Linked DNA regions of Homo sapiens: all the other regions are linked to region 1. The links are contacts of gene promoters, found by promoter capture Hi-C in human tissues and cell types (Jung and others, 2019). All regions are on one chromosome and are shown on one strand. The core of a region is centred on a gene start or on the middle of the fragment in contact, and the rest is flanking DNA. Distances in the headings are between cores, read along the strand shown.

Region 1 (2,992 bases), core at 105-2,604:
GGTTTCTAAATTCAAGCCTTCCCATGGAGGGAATTTTTTGTCTTAGTAAATACTACAAGCATATAGTTTTTAAAAGATTCAAATTTTTCAGGAGAAAAGGATAGTTATTTGCACCCATTTCCTAGTCGGTCATTTGCCCTCTCCAAAGGGAAGAAATTAGTTTGTGTCCCTTTTTCAAAGATAGTATCTACACATTTGAACATCCAGATTTGTAAAACACATACTCTCGGCCGGGTGCGGTGGCTCACACCTGTAATCCTAGCACTTTGAGAGGCGGAGGCGGGTGGATCACGAGGTCAGGAGATCGAGACCATCCTGGCCAACACGGTGAAACCCCTATCTCTACTAAAAGTACAAAAATTGGCCGGGTGTGCTGGCGTGCGCCTGTAGTCCCAGCTACTTGGGAGGCTGTGGCAGGAGAATCTCTTGAACCCGGGAGGCGGAGGTTGCAGTGAGCCGAGATGGCGCCACTGCACTCCAGCCTGGGCAAGAGAGCCAGACTCCGCCTCAAAAAAACAAAACAAAACAAAAAAACAAAAACATACTCTCTTCTTTACATTGCTTAGTGTCACTAGAAATATATCTTGGGGCTTGTCAACGATGACAGGAAGGAAGCATGGGTAAGAATAACTATGGGGCCAGTGCACCCAGGATCACGGACTACAAAATTCTTGAACCCGGAGGTCACACTTTTCTATCCTGTGTGGACAGGGCATTTCCTCCTTTAGCCACAAAGAAGTTGCACATGTATTTGTATTTTGCGTTTGCATCCAGCTTCAAAAAGTGTGTTTTTGTGCCTGCACATGTCTGAGTGCGGATGTTTGCATATCATTTAGTACGCCTCTGTGATTTCCCTTAGTTTATTATTTTTCTGTGTCAGGATCTTGACGTGACTCGGTGCATGTCGCTGTTTGTGTGACATTGTGTATCATTCTTGGGGTGTGTATGGGTATGTGTGTGCTATGTCATTACCTAAATATTACGTTTTTGGGGGGGTGTGTGATGTCTGTGAAAGTCCACGCCTGTGTATCTTGTCAGGGTGCTCTTCAGTCCCCAGCTGCCTCACTCATTGCATATCATCATTCTCGGAAGATGGGCGGGTGTGGGAACAGTGGTACGCCCCCATTCCTGCCTTCCAGAGAGAACGTGCGACAGCGTTCCTGCTACACCCGGCAGCCGGCCGTAGGGGCGCGCTGGAAAGGCTGCTGCGCGTGCACACGTGTGCAGCCTTGGAGACAGACTTCGGGGTCGCGCGTTCTCGCGCGCGCTCTCTAGTGGCTTCGGAGGGCAGAGCTGACAGAACAAGAGGGCGGGGTTGGCGGCGACGGAAGTGAAGTCACTTCCGGGCTGGGGTGTTTGTTTGGACTGGAGAAGGGAGGCGGCGGGCGAAGCGCACGTCGAGCGGGGGAGCGGCGCTGCCTGTGGAGATCCGCGGAGGCCGACAGGATTCGTTGGCTGCCGTCCCCGCTGCTGTGCATTGGGTGAGGGGTCCTCTCGGGCAGAGTGGCGACAGGGGTGCGGAGGTCGAGGGACAGCAAGTCGGCGACGGCAGAGGGGCCTAAAGGGTTCCCTGGGTGGTTGGCCACCGAGTCCATTGCGGCCTCCGTTGTTCATTGCCTCTTTCCACCAAGTCTGAGGGATGAGCTTGGGCCGACTTCGTCTCTGTCTTCTCCGAGACATGGCCGTCGCTTTTTTTTCATTGTCATTATTAATGATTTGGATCTCGCAGCTCTCTATCCGGGTCCTCAGTGGCGCGAGGGTTGCCGGGATAGCACTTTCTCCTGTTCCTCATTCTCCCGGTCCTTTATCCCTCCGCCGGGTACCCTTTCCCCTGCCCCCCTCCCACCGCCTCGGCAACAAAGCTTATTGTTTCTACCCACTTTACGCCTGCGCGTCGCCACGCGCAGCCCCTACTTGCTGCGCGTGCGCGCCTCAGCCGAGGCTGGGGTTTGGGGAGAGAGGGGCGGAGGGACTGGCGGGCTCTTGGCGTCTTGGGGGAACGCTGCAACCGTCGACGGGCCTGATCAGAAGATCGTCTTTCTCCCGTTTCTTCGCCATCGCTACCCCTTATTTTTGGTTGTATTGCAGCTCATGCCCTGGAAAAAAGAACCTTTGGGGTACTGGGAACCCTTACCCTAGGAGGGCGTTGAGTTAGATGAACTTTAAGGTCCTCTTACCTTTTAATAATTTTCTGTGCTTACTCTCCTCCTTCCCCACCATCGCCACCAGAAATAAATAAGGCTTGTGGTGAACTTAGGTCTTCAAAACATTTGTTGCAGCAGCCAGCAGTGATATTTTTTAGGGACTCCTAAAAGGGGTCTTACCTGCTTCCTTTTGTTTCTTTTTTCCCTGATTTGGCACCCGTATCAACTCATAAAAACCCCAAACTCTAGAAAGAATTTGGCTTCCAATTTGCCTTGGAAGGTGTAGCAGCTGACAGCCTTTGACGTTTATTTCAACGGAAAGTAGATGTTCATGTTGGGTGTGCTGGCTAATGTTGAAACGTGGTGGCATTGTTTTTTCACAGATTTCATTAGCACAGTTAGATCAGGTGTTGGTTTATATTTTCATTAAGTCGCTTTTGAAATTTCTTCTGGCGTAGGTTGTGTTTGCAATAAGTAAAAGTTCTCTACAATAATTTTTAATGAGACTCCACTATTTGCTTTTGTGATTCTGTTTCCAGTTAGTGAAAGACAGGATATTTGGGGAAAATTAGTCTGTTTATACTACTTGTCAGTTGTGAACTTGAATAAAACTTTTTCACACACACACAAAATCACAGGATAGGTAACTTGACAAGAACTATAGAACCCACTTGTGTTTCTTTAAGGGATGGAGGTTAGGGAATGGAGATTTCCTCTAATGATTCAAGGCTGTGCACGTTGCTCCTTAGGAACTCAAATTGAGGTAGGTAATTTCACCCTCTTTTGGTCAGAATGAGTTTATAGCAGGCTTTTCCTTAAATAAGCACTCTGCACTTTATTCAGGTTTA
Region 2 (2,746 bases), core at 14-2,513, 1.1 Mb before region 1:
CAATAAATACATCAAAAGGCAGTGATGTAATGAAGAATTAAGAAGTCACTGTCGGCCAGGCACCATGACTCCTACCTTGGGAGGCCAAGGTGGGTGGACTGCTTGAACTCAAGAGTTCATGACCAGCCTGGACAACATGGCAAAACCCTATCTCTATAAAAAAATACAAAACTTAGCCAGGTGTGGTGGCATGCTCCTATAATCCTAGCTACTCAAAAGGCTGAGGCAGGAGAATCTCTTGAGCCCAAGAGGTCAAGGCTGCAGTGAGCTGAAATTGCACCACTGCACACCAGCCTGGCTGACTGATTGAGACTCTATCTCAAAATAATAAAGAATAAGAAGGGGCTGGGCGTGGTGGCTCATGCCTGTAATCCCAACACTTTGGGAGGCCGAGGCTGGTGGATCATGAGATCAGGAAACCGAGACCATCCTGGCCAACATGGTGAAACCCCATCTGCACTAAAAATACAAAAATTAGCTGGGCGTGGTGGCACATGCCTATAATCCCAGCTACTCTGGAGGCTGAGGCAGGAGAATCCCTTGAACCAGGGAGTTGGAGGTTGCAGTGAGCTGAGATCGCACCACAGCACTCTAGCCTGGTGACAGAGCGAGACTCCGTCTCAAAAAAAAAAAAAAAAAAAAAAAAAAGAATAAGAAAGAAAGCACTTCAAGCTTCTAAATACCACTCCCAAGTTTGTCACACATGACAACGTCGCGAACAACTTTATCCAGTCGCGTGCTGCCCCACTGAATGTTCTCCAGCGTTCCTTGGGGGCTGTAGTCTGGTCAAGGCTGATCCTCACCTAAAGTCCTTCCTGGAAAAAACTCAATTGCCTTTTTCTTCTGTGATCCCGGCTTTGTCCGACAGATGGAACCATTCCCTCCCTCCCCGCTCTTCAAAGGGCTTGACCGGAAAAGGTGTTTGCTCAAGAGCGATGTGGGACCAGACACCAGAGACCAAAGTAGAGAGAGGCTAAAGAACTTACTAAATCTAAGCCCGATGAGAACTGAAAGAACAGTCAGTTCCCAGCAAGGTTTCTTGACTTAGGCATTATTGATATTTTGAGCTGGTTAATTATTTGTTGGAGGTGGCAGTGGGTAGGAAGGAGGTGGGTGCTGTCCATGTATTCATTTAACTACAATTTATCTAGTTGTTACTATGTGCCAAGCTCTGGGAATAGACTGTTGAATGAAACAGTCAATTCCTGCACTCAGACATTTTTTTCTAGTGGGGGAGAAAGATGATAAACAATCATACAAAGAATTATGTAACAACAGTTACCATAAGTGCAGTGAAGGAAAAGCTTAAGAAGCTATGATAGGAGGCCTGTGCCAGGCTGTGGGCAAAGATGGCCATAAGTCCTCCATCCCTGGATATGTGCCCCTTTACAATATGACTTTGCATCAAGCGGTGAGTCTGTGTCCCTGCCTTTGAATCTGTGTTAGCCCTGTGACTTGCTTTAACCAATAGAAAGCAGTGAAAGGGATGTTATGTGACTTCTGAGCCTCAGTTTCAAGGGACCTTGCAACTTTAACTCTTGCCCTCTTGCTGCCCTGAAGGAACCAGGTTAGCCTCTTAGCTGTCCCAGATATTCCAGCTGTCCCAGTGGTTCCCACCATTCCGGCTGAGGCTTCAGATAGATGAGTGAGGCTATGCAGGAACAGCCAGCACCCAGTCAACCTGACAACTGACTGCAGCTGCAGAAGTGACCCCAGGCAAGACTGAACCCAGTCAGAATTGCAGAAAAATGAGCAAATACATGGTTGGGGGTTATTATGCAATGATAGACAACCAATACAAGGCCCTAACCTGGTCTAGGGCTAGAGGAGTGGATCAGAGGAGGCTTCCTTGAAGAAATTAGTCCAGCTAAGACCTGGAGATAGACCTAGAGTCAGCCCGGTAGAGCATAGGGGAAGAGCATTCAGGCAGCAGAGACAGCAGGTTAAGAACTATATGTATCTGAGGACCTAAGCAGGGAACTATATGTATCTGAGGACCTAATCAGGCAACACCAGATGGTCTGAAGAGAAGAGAGCCCAGCAGTATAGACAATGACCAATGAGCGGTGTGCTGTACTTAACCCATCACCCACCTCCATTCCCAAACTGACTTTTAGTTTTTGTTTTTTTATCACATTCTGGATACATCCATGGGCCGTGTCAAGCATGTAAATTTCATCTACTATGTATGTTGAAAAATTAAAGAGTTGAAAATACCTGTGGACATTAACCTGTCTCCTAGAAGCTAGGAAAAGGTTGAGTTACAGTCTTTTGGGGATGAACAATATGAAGATGACAAAGCAGGCTGAGCACGAGGAAAAAATGTATTTTTAATAGTTGTGATGACCATCAAAGCTATTATGACCCCATCTTCACTGATCTAAGCTCATACTTAAATGGAAATTTACTTGAAAAGCCCTTTCTTTGCATAATGGAAAGGCAGGCTTGTCCAATTCCATCTCCCCAAGGTAATGGCCCTAGGATGTAATGGGAGGCCTCACTGCCAGCTCTGCTCATCGGGGGCTCTCAGCCTTGTGTAGCCCAGCTTTGGTAACCCCCCTTCCCAGTGTCCTTTATCCCTATTACTCAGTAAAGTTCCCCTAAGGATGCCTCACCTCCAAGGTTACTGCTGAGAACCTTTAGAAAGAGGGAGAATTGATGGGGCTGACATCACTGTGTTGCTCGGCCTCTTCGTCTGTCTGGGGAAGATGATCCAGTGGGAGCTCCCCTGCAGGGCAATAGGCTG
Region 3 (2,730 bases), core at 187-2,686, 1.4 Mb before region 1:
TAATATATGAAGATTCAGATAGTATTTATTTTAGGCATGAAAAGATGGTTCAAAATTGGGTAATCAACTAATCAACGTAATTCATTGCATTAAAAAAGGAAAACTGCATGATCATTTTCCACAAATGCTGGGTATTTTATAAGTTTCAACACCCAATCTTGAGGGGAAAAATAAAAATCAATGATATTTCCTTGATATGATAAAAACATTGATCTTATCCTCTTCACCTTACTTAATAGGAAAACATTGAACATGTCAGGGACAAGATAGTGATGTATTGGAGGGGTAAAGTCAAAACAATTAGATAAGAGAACTACATTAGAGGTATTTCTAATTGAAAAAAGTAAAACTGCCTTTACTTATGATTCTCTTCAATTTTCTAGGTATATGATGATCTGAAAAATTACAATAAAAAGATAATTAGGTAAACTGGTAGGAAAAATAATTTACATAAATGTCATATATGCAAACATCAATTGGTTTGGTAAAAATTATAATAGAAGACCTTATTTGTAACAGCAACAAAGTAGAAAATGCCCAGCAATTAACAAAATGTTCAAAACCAAGATAAAAAACTTTAAACATTCCTTAAAGACACAAAAATACCGGGCATGGTGGTTCATACCTGTAATCCCAGCACTTTGGGACACTTGAGGCGGGTGGATCACTTGAGGTCAGGAGTTTGGTGAACATGGTGAAACCCCATCTCTACTAAAAAATACAAAATTAGCCAGGCGTGGTGGTGTGCACCTGTAATCCCAGCTACTTGGGAGGCTGAGGCAGGAGAATTGCTTGAACCCAGGAGGTGGAGGTTGCAGTGAGCCAAGATCACGCCACTGCACTCCAGCCTGGACAACAAGAGCGAAACTCTGTCTCAAAAAAAAAAAGACACAAAAATACACCTGACCAAATGAGAAAACGTACTACATCTAACAATCAGAGCCCACTCAGAAAGAAACCATAATATGTATTTCAAATAGAGAAAATATACTACAGTGAATTGATTACTACACAGGTATTAAAAGACAGAAAAAAGTGAAATGATAACACTGAGACAACTCATAAATAATGACTGCAGGAAGAGGTTACCACTCCTAGGGCTAAGATTACAAAAGGTGGTGTTACTAGAACCTACTATCTTAGAGAAGGGGCTTGTGGAGCTGTTGCTCAGTCCTGTGATGAGAAGGTACCTCACTGCTGCTGCTGATAAAGGTTAAGTATTCTTTATCCAAAATGCTTGGGACCCAGAAGTGTTTTAGAGTTCAGATTTTTTTTGGATGTTGGAATATCTGCATTATATACCTACTGGTTCCGCATTCCTAATTCAAAAATTTGAAATCCAAAATGCTCCAGTGAGCATTTCCTTTGAGAGTCATCGAGGTGCTAAAGTTTTGGATTTTGAACACTTCAGATTTCCGATTAGGGATACTCAATCTGTACTTCTTGAGTGGGTGTGATGAGGCTGCTTCTGAGTATGCCAAAAGCAGCTAGATGCTACAGCTAGAGCCACTGTTGCTGGAGATAACTACCATTGCATAAGCAGTGCCAATAGAAACAGAACAAAAAACAAAACAAACCAAAAAAAAAAAAAAAACCCACGACCTTTCTCCCCTCTATCCTGCAAATACTGGCAGAATCTAACAGGAATCCAGGTATTAACAGTTTAGGGAATGAAGCTTACAAAGCCTAAAACCCAACATCACAGAGTATAAGAGGGTAAATTTTGAGCTGAACAGTTGGTCCATTCCACTCCTGTGGCATACACATTTGCACTTCCATAAAATGATGATTCCAAGCTTCTATCCAGTAAGATCAAACTATCCTTTATACAAATGAAGGTACTTTCACCTTCTCCCTAAAAAGGGAGAAGCAAAGTCCCAACAGTAATTGTATCCATCTGTGGATATTATGACCTCTTCTAGTTGAATCACAATTCCTTAAGAATACTTTGCAACCTAATGTTTAAACTACAGTTAGCCACCACCAGTATTCCTTAGATAAAGGAGAAAGAAAATATACACATAACAAGCAAAGAAGGAAATAGGAATAGGGCTACAGTCTTTGTTTCTGTAACAGATTACAAGGCTACAGTTGGTATTTATAACTTCCTTCTCCTACCCATTCCGTATCATTCCCTTTGCCTACAGCCAAGAGCTCAGCCAGCTGCATTAGGAATAACCTTAATTAGTTCAGAATCTGAACTCTCAGTGGTCCTGCCTTTAACAGAATGCTGTGGTTTCCCATTACCTTTTACTTTTGGACATCTAAGTATTAAGAGGCATACCAGAGAATCCCTTGGGCACAGTCTGCTCTGTGCTAGTTTGTGGCAGTAATCCAATTTCCCCTTGGTAATTCGCATCAATCACCTCAACACATAAATAACCACTTCTTTCCCTGCTGGTTCTGTAGGCATGAGGAATCCCAAACGGTCAAGTGGCAGTCTCAAATTCAGTTTAAGTCAATTGTTGTGCCCCTTGGTGGAAGCATGCAATCTATGAGGGTCTATTTCTTTGGGTCTCCCCTGCTACCAATTATTCATCAGTTAAGAGTTGTCAGAAAAACAGAAATCACTTAGGTAATTTAAAAAGAGGGAGTTTGGTATACAGAATTTGCTTCTGAGATATTGCAGGAGTGTAAGGGCCAATATGAACATGAAGATCATCCAGAGACAACTAACTGCAGGAGGCAGCTACCACAAGGGAAGGTGGTAGGGCGAGCAGGACGTAGGAG

What was found. The method cuts DNA at HindIII sites, captures the fragments that hold promoters and counts their contacts. A contact is called where the count stands out against the background at its distance.
Region 2: a fragment that was not itself captured here is called in contact with the fragment with the promoter of PAIP2 in region 1 in 1 of the 25 tissues and cell types used here (heart left ventricle).
Region 3: a fragment that was not itself captured here is called in contact with the fragment with the promoter of PAIP2 in region 1 in 1 of the 25 tissues and cell types used here (hippocampus).

The regions. Positions count from the first base shown.
Region 1 is chr5:139,340,500-139,343,491 of GRCh38, forward strand. PAIP2 (poly(A) binding protein interacting protein 2) reads left to right here and starts at 1,355. Exons shown (of 4, transcript NM_016480.5): 1 at 1,355-1,481. The HindIII fragment of the contact is 8,924 bases long and covers 1-2,992 here.
Region 2 is chr5:138,222,096-138,224,841 of GRCh38, forward strand. No RefSeq gene overlaps it. Among named protein-coding and RNA genes, the nearest start is that of CDC23, 10 kb to the left of the region's middle. The HindIII fragment of the contact is 4,119 bases long and covers 1-2,746 here.
Region 3 is chr5:137,931,473-137,934,202 of GRCh38, forward strand. The region is part of intron 12 of PKD2L2 (polycystin 2 like 2, transient receptor potential cation channel); the gene reads left to right. Among named protein-coding and RNA genes, the nearest start is that of PKD2L2, 43 kb to the left of the region's middle. The HindIII fragment of the contact is 3,022 bases long and covers 1-2,730 here.